Regions from separate parts of the Homo sapiens genome. Here region 2 is linked to region 1. Evidence: promoter capture Hi-C in human tissues and cell types (Jung and others, 2019). All regions are on one chromosome and are shown on one strand. Each heading gives the region's core, a stretch centred on a gene start or on the middle of the fragment in contact. The rest is flanking DNA. Distances are from core to core; before and after follow the strand shown. Region 1 holds the start of AADAT (aminoadipate aminotransferase). Region 2 overlaps CLCN3 (chloride voltage-gated channel 3).

Evidence for each region. Contacts are between HindIII fragments. The study calls those that stand out against the background at their distance.
Region 2: a contact is called between a fragment that was not itself captured here and the fragment with the promoter of AADAT in region 1, in 2 of the 25 tissues and cell types used here (dorsolateral prefrontal cortex and hippocampus).

The regions. Positions count from the first base shown.
Region 1 is chr4:170,086,489-170,092,856 of GRCh38, reverse strand. AADAT (aminoadipate aminotransferase) reads left to right here and starts at 2,901. Exons shown (of 13, transcript NM_016228.4): 1 at 2,901-3,233; 2 at 4,293-4,461; 3 at 5,609-5,741. The coding sequence starts at 3,167. RefSeq lists an enhancer at 791-1,485 and a silencer at 3,385-3,679. The HindIII fragment of the contact is 6,677 bases long and covers 1-4,002 here.
Region 2 is chr4:169,657,467-169,663,740 of GRCh38, reverse strand. All of the region lies in intron 2 of CLCN3 (chloride voltage-gated channel 3), which reads right to left. Among named protein-coding and RNA genes, the nearest start is that of CLCN3, 40 kb to the right of the region's middle. RefSeq lists a silencer at 3,049-3,108 and enhancers at 3,409-3,508, 2,691-3,563. The HindIII fragment of the contact is 4,052 bases long and covers 210-4,261 here.

The DNA.
Region 1 (6,368 bases), core at 1,652-4,151:
CTGAGGCCTTAAGGTTTGCTTAAATGCATGTTACTAACAACAGCCAATGTTCATAGCGTTTTTACAACGTGCAGACCACTGCACTGATTAGTTTAACACAGATTATCTCATTTATTCCTGTCAACATGCCTGCGAGAAAACCAATACAGAGAAAGGTTAATTAACTTGTCCAAAGACACCCAGCTATTAAGCCATCAAATGGGATTTCAACTACTTGAAGTCTCTGAACGCAGAAGCATTTTGCCTCGTGGGTTTCTAACAGGTTTACTAGATACTGTGCCTGGAATTGGTGGGGTTTTGGTCTCACTGACATCAAGAACGAAGCCGCAGACACTCGCGGTGTGTTAACAGTTCTTAAAGTCAGTGTGTCCAGAGTTTGTTCCTTCTGAGGTTCGGATGTGTTGGGAGTTTCTTCCTTCTGGTGGGTTCGTGGTCTCACTGGCTGCTGGCGTGAAGCTGCAGACTTTGGCGGTGAGTGTTACAGCTCTTAAGACAGCTCGGCTGGATTTGTTTACTCCTCCCTGTGGGTGCGTGGTCTCCACGGCCTCAGGAGAGAAACTGCACACCTTCGCGGTGAGTGTTACAACTCATAAAAGCAATGTGGACCCAAAGAGTCAGCAGCAGCAAGATTTATTGCAAACTGCGAGAAAACAAAACCACCACACGCTGCAAAAGTATCCAAGCGGGTTACCGCTGGTGGCTGAGGCAGCCTGCTTTTATTCTCTTATCTGGCCCCATCCACATCCTGCTGATTGGTCCATTTTACAGAGAGCCAATTGGCCTGTTTTTCAGAGCTGATTGGTCCATTTTGACAGGGTGCTGATTGGTGCGTTTACAATCCCTGAGCTACACACAAAAGTTCTCCAAGTCCCCACTAGATTAGTTAGATACAGAGTGCTAATTGGTGTATTTACAAACCCTGAGCTAGATACAGAGTGTTGATTGGTGCATTTACAAACCATGAGTTAGATACAGAGTGCTGATTGGTGTATTCACAATCCCTTAGCTAGACATAAAGATTCTCCAAGTCCCCATCAGATTAGCTAGATACAGAGTGCCCATTGGTGCATCCACAAACCCTGAGCTAGACACAGGGTGCTGATTGGTGTGTTCACAATCCCTTAGCTAGACATAAAGGTTCTCCAAGTCTCCTCTAGACTCAGGAGCCCAGCTGGCTTCCCCCAGTGGAGCCGGCACTGGGGCCACAGGTGGAGCTGCCTGCCAGTCCCGGGCTGTGAGCCCGCACTCCTCAGCCCTTGGGCGGTAAATGGGACCGGGTGCTGTGGAGCAGGGGGCGGCACTCGTCAGGGAGGCTCGGGCAGCGCAGGAGCCCACGGGTGGGTGGTGGGGAGGCTCAGGCATGGCTGGCTGCGGGTCCGAGTCCCACCCCGCTGGGAGGCAGCTGAGGCCTGGCGAGAATTCGAAGGTAGCGCCGGTGAGCCGGCATTGCTGGGAGACTGGGCACACCCTCCGCAGCTGCTGGCCCGGGTGCTAAGCCCCTCACTACCCGGGTCTGGCGGAGCCGGCCCGCCGCTCTGAGTGCCGGCCCGCCAAGCCCACGCCCACCCGGAACTCTAGCTGGCTCGCAAGCGCCCGCACAGCCCTGGTTCCCGCCCGTGCCTCTCCCTACACACCTCCCCGCAGGCTGAGGGAGCCGGCTCCGGCCTCCGCTATCCCAGGAAGGGGCTCCCACAGTGCAGCGGCGGGCTGAAGGGCCCCTCAAGCGCGGTCAGAGTGAGCGCTGAGGCCGAGGAGGCGCCAAGAGTGAGCGAGGGCTGCGAGGGCTGCCAGCAGGCTGTCACCTCTCAATACTTCCTTTTTGTTATTTAGCTGCTAGCACAAAGATTTTACTGGGTTATCTCAGCCTTTTGCTGCCAGGACCTAGATAAAAGCAGTGGCTCCTTGACCAACCTATTAGGTAAACTTAAAAGAGAGCCATTTGGCAGTGAGTCAATAATCATCTAGGAAGTACTCAGTAAATTTGTGCTGAATGAATGAATCTGTTCATTCATTTTAATAACCATTAAAGAATTTTTTAAAGTCAAAGAGAGGTTGTCTGAAACCCTTCCCTCATTAAGTGCTCACATTAAACCTTGTACATTCCATTTTGGTGATTCAGGAAGGAGAAATTGCAGAAAAGTTGAGGGAGGTGGGGAGTAAGAAGGGTTATTTTGTAAGAAAAAAAAAGGCAAGGTGCTAGACCCAAAAAGATCCGGATATTCACTTCCAACATAATTCTTATTTAACGAAAGGTCAGAAATTCAATGTGAGGGTAGACACTAAAATTGAAGAGACTCAGAGTGATTTTTCAAAAATTTTTGTCAGAACTCCATCGTCACTCCAAAATGCTGAGATCTTCGAGAAAGTGATGTTGAAATTCGTCTTGGTCGCCGGGATGCTTCCCAGGAGAGTGCCCAGAGTTTCACTAACGAAAGATGGGTATTTAGCATAGCCATGGTCTGAGCGGGCAAAATGCACAGTCCCAGTGACTGAGAGGAGGCCAGCGGAGCGCGCGGGAACGAGGGTGGGGCCGCTCCCGGCTGGGCGCAGCTCGGGAGCCCCCTGCAGTGGACCCAAGTCGCCGCCAGATGGTTCCCGAGGATTAGGATCACGGGCACTTCCGGTCCCCTCGGTCAGCCCCTGGGCTAGCCTCTGGGCCGGCGCCTAGGCCGGCCAACGCGGACGCCGGGTTGCGGTGATTCCCAGCGGCGAGGTCAAGAGTCATTGGCCTGGGGCTGCAAGCGCCTCGCGCCTGGGCTACCCCGCGCCCTGCGCTCTGAGGGCGATGATCCGGGACGGGGAGGCGCGCGCCGCGGGCGGCCATAGGCCACGGCGCGGGGCGGGAGGGGGCGCGGCGAGGCCCGCGGCGGGGCAAAACCGGCCTGGGCCCTGGCGGCCGCAGGAGCGCGTGCGGCGTGGACTTTGCCGGGCTCGCCACACAGCCCCAGACCCGTTTAGGACCGGGAGACCGAACGCAGCGTCCAGCCGGGGAGTTTCGGCGGCGTTCTCCGGGCACCGCGCGCGGGAAGCCAGACGCAGCGGGGGGACACATCTCGCGGTGGCGTTGCCAGAGTGAGGAGTTAGCAGGCAGGACTTGACGAGGCTCTTTGGTTTTTCTAGTCCTCAACCACTGAAGAAGAAGCTTGATGCTTGGCTGTCAGAAGACATGAATTACGCACGGTTCATCACGGCAGCGAGCGCAGCCAGAAACCCTTCTCCCATCCGGACCATGAGTGAGAAACGGGGTGACCATCTCTCCTTTGGGGTGGGGCATTCCTCGCACAGCCTCTAAGGAGGGTTCCCTAGCAAGCCACCGCTTGGTTGCATCCATGCGTACCCCTGTGCACGCTCGCGGTGAGCCAGGCTCTGCGTGCAGAAATGAAATAGACACAGCCTTTGTTCTCAAAGAACTCGGGCTGAAACGGAAGGCGGGTATTTCTGCTGGAGCAGAGTAGGAGCAACAGTAGAGAGAGGCGCAGACTGCTGTGGGGCACGGCCTTGGAAGGGAGGGGGCGTGCTATCAAGAAAGGCTCTTCCTGGGAAGCTGAGAAGGGGCATGCACAGCGTGCAGATGGGTGTACAGTGGAGAGGGCCAGGTAAATGGGAGAGGGGTGGGCCATGAAGCTCACAGACAGGTCGGGGCTAAGTGGAGGAGGGCTTCTGCTATTGTGGCCCTTTGCTGTCTTTCTGATCCCTCTGCCTTCTCTTTGGTCACCTTCATTCTTTAGTCCCTCCACAAGTGAGGTGCCTAGAAAAAGTTATTCTGTATGTTTATTTTAGACTAGCTTTTGTCTTAGTCCATTCAGGCTGCTATAACAAAATACCACAAACTGGGTAATTTATGAACAATAGAATTATTTCTCACAGTTCTGGAAGCTAGGAAGTCTAAGATCAAAGTGCCAGCAGCTTCTGTGTCACCATGGTGAGAGCCCTTCCTTATAGACAGAGCCATCTTGCTGCATCCTCACGTGGTAGAAGGGAGAACCTATGTCCTCACGTGGCAGAAGGGCCAAGGGCATTCCCTCAGCCCTCTTTTATAAGTGCACCAATCCCATTCAGGAGGGTGGATCCCTCCTGACCTAATCACCTCTAGAGACCCCACCTGTTAAAACTATCACATTAGTATTAACTTCCAAGTATGAATCTGGGGGAGCACCAACATTTAGACCATAGCACACTCTATCACTAGAAATCGTTAAACTTTATAGTTTTATTGACTATAATGCATGCTTAACTATCCGCTTATAACAATCTTCAATGAAATTGTTTCTTCTCTTCCATGTGTATTGTAGCTGACATATTGAGCAGAGGACCAAAATCGATGATCTCCTTGGCTGGTGGCTTACCAAATCCAAACATGTTTCCTTTTAAGACTGCCGTAATCACTGTAGAAAATGGAAAGACCATCCAATTTGGAGAAGAGATGATGAAGAGAGCACTTCAGTATTCTCCGAGTGCTGGGTAAGTATCAATACTTAACATAATTTTATTGGCTTATTTTCATAAGAAATATTCTAAGGCCCATTGATAAAGAATATTAAAGAAATATTCTAAGGTCCATTCATAAATATTCTAAAGCCATTGACCCATTTGGTCATTCAATGACCAAATACTCAGTCATTGAATACTAACCAAATGAGTATTCAATGGTTAGGAAGGTCTGGGGAAAGGTTTTCAAAGGATAATTAAGAACAGAAAGGATATTGAATGTTTAACACTCCTCAGTGATTGCTTCTCAATCGCAAATGACCAAGAAGGCTTCTAGAAGGAAATACCATTAGAGCTGAGTCCAAAAAAATGAGAAGATGTCCAGGTGAAACAAACATATCAGGAGAAATGAAGAAACGGAAGATCCAGGAAGCTTCAACTTTTTAAAGTTTAAGCATCCTGGATCTTCCGTTTCTTCATTCTATAGTCTAAACAAGCAGTCATGCAAATACATTGAATATAGTCATTCATTTCTATAGTCTAAACAAGCAGCCATTCAAATACATTGCCCTCATAGGTTCAAATGTCTTTAATTTCTTAAAGGCAAGCTGAAACATATACCTTGACTTTCTTAGCTGGTCTTCTTCAAGTGATAAAGGATAATTTATAGAGAATCTATAAATTATACTTTATTAAAACCTGCTTTGTTCTGTGATTGAAAAGTGTATTGAAATGTTATTCATGTATATATGTGTTAGTTATGTAATATGTTAAATATACATAGGCTTATTCAAACATTCCATGATACAAACAACTTATTGAGTCTGAACTTCTAGGTAGCCATAGAACTCTTCCTAGAGAGAACAAAGAATCGATTATGCAACGCATGCGCTAAAGACTTCAGGTTTGGAATAAGAAAGATGTAGATTCAAATCTCAGCTCATTTATTACGTAATTGACTTTCTGAGAATTTCTGGCTGAATGACTTACAGGAATTTCCTAATCTCTAAGTCTACTGCCTATCTTTTAAATAGGAATATTCATACTGGCAAAAAGCATTTGAGGGTTTTTTAATTGAGTGTACAAAGTGCTTGATAAAGCTGTCATTTATTATTTCCTGTCTACTACTGTTACTATGATTTTTACTACTATGAATTTAAATATACATTTTTTGCTTTAGAATTCCAGAGCTTTTGTCCTGGCTAAAACAGTTACAAATAAAATTGCATAATCCTCCTACCATCCATTACCCACCCAGTCAAGGACAAATGGATCTATGTGTCACATCTGGCAGCCAACAAGGTCTTTGTAAGGTAAGACTGAAAGGAAAACTCAGCCAAAATGTAGAATTGGAAGCATTCATTTCTATAGTCCTCTCGCACTTAACCACAGAGAATTATATTTTATGGATTACTGGTAGTCTTTCTTGTCTTCACCTAGAATTATAAACAGGGAACTAAAAGACAAGTCATAGGATGGGGGTGGGAGCAGTTGTGGCCGGGGATGGGCAAGGGTGGGTAGGGGGTGTTGACTGTAAGCAAAAGCCAGGTGGAAATATTGTAGGTTGATCTATCAATATTTCCCCCTAGTTTTCCTCATTGTGAACACAAGGACTTTGAAAAATTACCTGCTCTTAACATCATTCACTAGCCTAATCTTTCTTAAATATTAAATACAGAGCATGTGGTCAATTACCCAGACCTATTAACCATTAAAGCAGGATGCCCACTAAGGGAGTACTCAACTCCTACCAAAAGCTTAGTGAACACTGCTTAATTTCATCTGGCTCAAAAATTCAAGTTACGTTTGATTTCCGCCTATAGTTAGGAAATTTCAATACAATTTTTAAATTTTTTAGAGGGCATGCTTTCATATTCCTGAGATACACATATTTATATTCTTTTACATATCTGTCTGTAGAATCTCTCCTTGCCACTGCT
Region 2 (6,274 bases), core at 986-3,485, 430 kb after region 1:
CTCAGTCTTGTCAACTAGAAAATGGGGATTATAACAGTACCTACTTCATAAACTTGTGATGAGGATTTAAATAATTTCATACACATAAAGCACTTAGAACAAGCCAGGCACAGTGGCTCGCACCTGTAATCTCAGCTACTTGGGAGGCCAAGGCAGGAGGGTTGCTTGAGCCCAGGAGTTGGAGACCAGCCTGGACAACATAGTGAGACTCTCCCTAAAAAAAAAAAAAATTTTGTTTTTTAAATTAGCCAGGCAAGGTGTTGCAAGCCTGCAGTCCCAGGTACCAAGGAGGGTGAGACGGAGGATCTAAGCCCAGTAGTTCAAGGCTGCATTTGCTATAATCACTCCACTGCACTCCAGCCTGGGTGAAAAAGTGATACCTCTCTCTTAAGAAAACAACAACAACAACAACAACAACAACAACAAAAAAACCCACTTAGGACAGTATCCAGCTAACAGGAAATTCTAATAAATATTAACTATTATTAATATTACTATTTTTATAATTCTCCACAGCACCTAGGAGTGCCATATGTGTGTGTATATGTATATATATATATACACATATACGCACACACACACATATATATACACACACACACACACACACACACATATATGCTCACTCTGAATGAAACAATTAAATATTTAAATAATTGTTAAAGGCCCCTCATGGAGTAAATGGAGGCTCAGGCCCAAAAGATCAAATCCATTATAAAGGGTTGGTAGAAGAAAGAAATTTGACCTCTAAAACTACTTAAACATCTTGAACAAATTAAGAAGAAAAAGTGTAAAACTAACAGTCCAGATAAGCCAAGTCTTTTTTCCTGATAAAAAAGGAAGAGACATTTTGAGAGAGCTTGATTGTTTCTATATAGGAAATCTACCCCTAAAGATGGCTATTTCTGAAATGTCATCTTAATTTCTAATCTATCAATAGTATATCAAACTAATTCTAATTTGAATCTACTTATACTTCCAGACTTGACATTATTTACTTAAATAGGAAGCTTCACCATTTACCATCTCGCCTTGAAAAGTAGTATTAAATTCAATTTACTCAACAAAGGTAATCCTTGGCTATAGCACTCAGGGATTTACTAAACAGATCCATGTTTACTTTATTGATATCCTTCACAATTTTATACTTTATCTGCCTCTTCACTATCAGGCTGAAGATCAATTTTAATCATTATAGTTTTGTTCTTCCTCACAGGGAAGCTGATTCAGTTTTTTCGATTTGTTAGCTGCCTGTCTCCATCAATTCCATTGTGTTGACCCATGGCTACAACAGGTCATAAATTATGGACAAAAAATAACATCTTACGCATAGACACTAGGATACTACAGTATGTTTGAGGTAATACAGTACAGTCACGAAAGCCTAATAACTGACTTATCTCTACTACACATACACAATGTTACTTTCAAATAACAATGACTTATATTAATAGAATAAGTCTCATCAAGGGATAAAGAACCTATTTGAGCTGCCAAGAGTGGGACTGATTTAGATCCTAAGCAAGATTCTTAAAGGATTATTTATGAAAGTATAATAGAAATAAAAAGCTTACGTTTAGGTAATATCAGTAACCATGCCTACTCTCACATAAGTTTTGACTTATTTCTTATTATTTGCATATTTTACACTAAGACAGTCCATAAGTAAGTTCTGTCAAAGACTGTTAAGCTTCACAAAAGGAATTTAAATTTCTGAAGCCCAGGTATTCTGATCTATCATCATTAACAACCAAATGTTGTAATAGCATGAGGAAAATACAGTCTGTCTTGTTTTACAGTTTAATTACTGATTAGCAAATAATGTGACATTTGAACAGTCACTATTCATTCACCTTGCTTCCTGTTTAAAGAACTCCTTACCAGAAAACTGATAATCAGAACATAGGAAATAGAAGAATTTATGATCGTAACATTAAGAAAAAAAATTTAAAAAGCTCTGGGTGGTGTGATTACAAGAAATTATTTTCTTCTTTATGCTTTTAGATATTTCTTCCAAATGTTCTAACATATACATATACACATATATCAAAATTTTATTAAGAAGGTAACTCTGTAAGAGAAAGCACAATGTATGTAACATGATCCTTACACAGCTTTTCTCAAAATGTAAAAAGCAAGTTTTTACTAACTACAGAATACTGCAAGATAAATAATGCTACAACTGTTCAGACCCTAAAATAGTGTGTAGCAGACACAATGCAACCAACAGACATTTGTTGAATACATTATAATGTTTAAATTATAGTGGAACTTAATACTAAAAAAAAAGTGTTATCAGAACACAAAGTATATTTTAAATAAAGCAGGCTAATTATATTAGAAAAACATTATTACTTCCTTATATACTTACAAATAAAAGTTTGGGTTAAATCATAAGGTGAGTTTATAATATCATGCAGTAATTCAAACTAATGTGGCTCAAAAATGAAGTCACATAAGCTAAGAGATTTTTCTTGAAGTTCAATTTTTTTCTAGGACAACAAATGTCGACCAGTCTGTTTTTCGAATAAGCAATTAAACAAAAATGAAAAAAAGGGTAGTAATTAACATGCAATTAATTTTAAGGAGACTGAGGAAGTGCCTGCCAAAAGATTTACAGGCATGCTGGGTGCTCTTCTGCTTTTCACAAACCAATATTATTTTTTCTGACATTTAGTCAAATGTGTTTTATCATATCAAATTTCACAAGATACCTGTGGAAGACAATGTAGTATGTTACTCAGCCGAAATACATATTAAATAAAAAGTATTAATATAGAAATTATTCATCTTTACTATCATTTTAAAATGTTCTAAAATGTAGGTAAAGCTTTTGCTATAAATTTACTTTGTGGTGTAAAATCTACATGGTAATTGGCAGCAGCTAAAATATAATGGTACATAGGCACCTGATTTCTCTGTGTAAATTAAAGGAAATGTAAGTTTTCTGAAGGAAGAAAAACATTACTTTTTAGATGCCAACCAACACGACTTTAGTTGGCTGTAAAAGCAGATTAATTCATTTTCAGAGTTAGAAAGAAGATTTTCATGCAGAAGATGGAGTCGGAGCCCGACGTGATCTGAAGCAGTACTAATCTGCACAGAGAAAACAATCAGGGATGGCTACACAACCATTCAGAAGGTTGCATTTTCCCCTTACTAACAACCCAGGGCAACTAAACAACGTACTGCAGTATTTAAAGGACAAACGAGAACCAGTTTAAGCTAGAGGACCGCCCAGCCGCATGCAAAACATACCAACAGAGAATTCACAGCAAGGGGATAGTATTACCTCTTTTATGTAATTCCCTCAGGGGAATACTGTCTCCTCCCCCGTCATAAGGCAAATAAGGGTCGGAAGAAGCATCCATGATTAGAATTTTTAAATAGAAGAAGAAAAAGAAAAAGAAAAAGCTTGCTAGCTTAAAAAGAAAGTGACATTTCTTCCATCCCTGCTGCAGCAAGCAAGGGAGATGCCATATTTGATGAGGTTAAAACTGTAGTTCGACTCGCTGAAGCAACTGGGTTCTTCCACAGTGGATGATGTCATCAAAGGGAAATTATTGCAGCCTGGTTGCTAGTGGCTACAATCTAGCAAGGCTTAGAGGCGGCACAGCCTTCTTAATCAGGTCCTGCTACGTATGACAATGACTAAGCTCCAAGTACAACACACAAAACTGGTTTGAGAATTTTGAAACACTCACAATACAGCTTCGGTAGCATCAGTGGTAACTACAGTAAAACAATAGAAACATTATTTCTTTTGGTTTTAAGATAAATATAAAGGGGAAAAAGTAATACAGAGATGTAAAAAGGAAATTTTGAATGCAGACAATGCCCTTTTTCATTTCTAATGTAGAAAAATGAGAGCAGCACTCTAGTAAGTTTGTGTGGTTTTACGAGAGAATGTACTAGTTTTATACAGTAATGTCATGTGAGTCATAGCCATAAAAAAACTACAATATGCCAAAGGTTTCTCAAGAAACTTGGTTCTAAGTCTATTAAAAATAAAAAAAAAATACTCTATAATACAGCAGCCTTTCATTGAGGATTTAAAAACCGAATAACTGAAGAGTTGAATAGTGTTTTATCCCACTCACCAATCTCCTCCAGCGGCTTCTTGTTTCCTTTCTTGAAGGAACTAGCTAGTAAGACATTGTAGCTTTTGAGGAGAAAGAAAACTATCAACGTACTAAGTAACTTTACTATTGTATGTGTCTAAACTACGCAAAAAAGAGGTTTACTAAGCAGAGGGCTTTCCTATCTCTACTAGCTTCCTATTTTATCTCATAAGGGTTTTGTGTTTTTAACTTTTAGCAAAAATGTGTCTCAAAGTGAGGTACTCAACTGTTCTAGAAATTGTTATAAAATTCAGAAATTGTCTCTTTAATAGAAATTTTTATGAAGTTCAGAAATAAAGCAACTTTCTTGTTTAAAACTGTCATTAAAAACAAAAACAAAAACCGCACAATGCTTATTGAAGATCAGAGTTCAATATTTTATAGCTACCTCTGAGAGGATTCCTCTAGACTGGGAGATTCTCCTCCTGAAATGCCTGTTACACAGTGTCACTAAACAACAACAACAACAAAAGGTGTTGTTCATTAGAAGCAATTCCACAGAACTCAAGGGTTCTATAAAATTTGTTTTCCTAAAGTATTGAATGAGACAATCTCTAAGGTCCACTCGAACTGAAAGTGTTTACATGAAAATTGGAGGTGAGAGAAGGAAAGAGAAAACTCAGAGGGCAGTAAAGAGAAGAGAGAAATTCTCTTCAATTTGTGGAGTACTAAATTTTACTTATTTAGGGTCTTTTTAAAAAACTGTATAGGTTAAATCAAGTTTTTATATTTTAAATCTCAGATAAACAGAGCTTCTTATAAAATCTCACCTGAAATTTGGGAGACAGGGTTCCAGGAAAGGAATATAGACTAGAATTACTGCCACAGGAATATTCTATCTTATCCTGATTCTAGCTATTAAAATTTTTGATAGGATAGTAGGTGATTTTTTTCTTTATTTTCTGTATTTTTCAAATATTCTTGGCAATTTTTTCTCCTATGCTCCTTCCTGCACACTGAGCCAATAGTTTTTTTAAACAAGGAAAGCTTTGACAAAGGCTAACTGTACTAAATTAGCTCAATGTAAATTTGGGAGTGTGTGGTTCTTTTATATGTTTTACCACCATATAATTTTTCTAAATATATAATTGTATGGCATTTATAAAGGATTTTGTTTTTATACCATTCATGTTCTTATATGTCTTTACATAAAAAATGAAAATCTATCCACAAGTTTTCCCGGTATTTGTAGGCACTCTCTTAACTTGTTTTTCCTGATCTACAACTTGATCATAAAGAATGAAAATGACAGTCAGCACTCACTGATGGGGGAAATCCTCCCGGTAAAATAAATACTGACAATGCTTCATATTGTAAAAGTTTTGTAGCCATATTTGAATTATTTTTAAAGATAAACAATTGTGTGTATATATAATATATATCTATATAATTATATTTGTATAGAATTAAGTTTAGAATAAAACACATCAAGCCCTTAGCAATTGTTATCACTGAGACATAAGGTAGAGAGGTTGAGGAGTACATTCAGTGTTTATATAATTCCACACTGTTTAAACAAATATATTACTTTTGTAATAATAAACCTAAAAATCTTTAAAACTTCAGAAGTAAACACATCTCTTGTGTTTATGGGGTCCACAACTGCCACTTTCTTAAAGTAAAAGAATCAGTACACAGGTTAAGTCCAATCACAATTTAGAAAAGCACAAGGTAGACTGGAAGATGTGGCAAAAGAGGACTTTGACACATAAGAGGACTTTGATAGAGACTTTTTATTACCATATTAACAAACTGAATTACAGTCAGGGTGGAGCCCAGATAGAGAGAGAGCAGAAGACAAATTCAAGAATTCCTAGGCATAGCTCTGGAAAAATGCTCAGGATGAATTCTAAAGAACCAAAATCACAAGTAGCACACATGAAGCCATCAAAATTCAAAAGGAGAAGTTATTTTTACTTTCGAACGCACCCTCCACTGTAATCTCAACTTGATGTGGAAATCTGGATAAATCACAACCTCTCTGGGATGTCTCTGTATCTACAAACCAGGAAGGCAGAATAGATGATAATAATATTTTAAGAGTTCTACCTTTAAGCCGCCCCTTGTAACAGTAATGATCTGAGAAATCTACAATATTAGAAGTACTTAAATTTTAAAACAATAAAAATAAATTTTAAACAATTTTTTGCCTT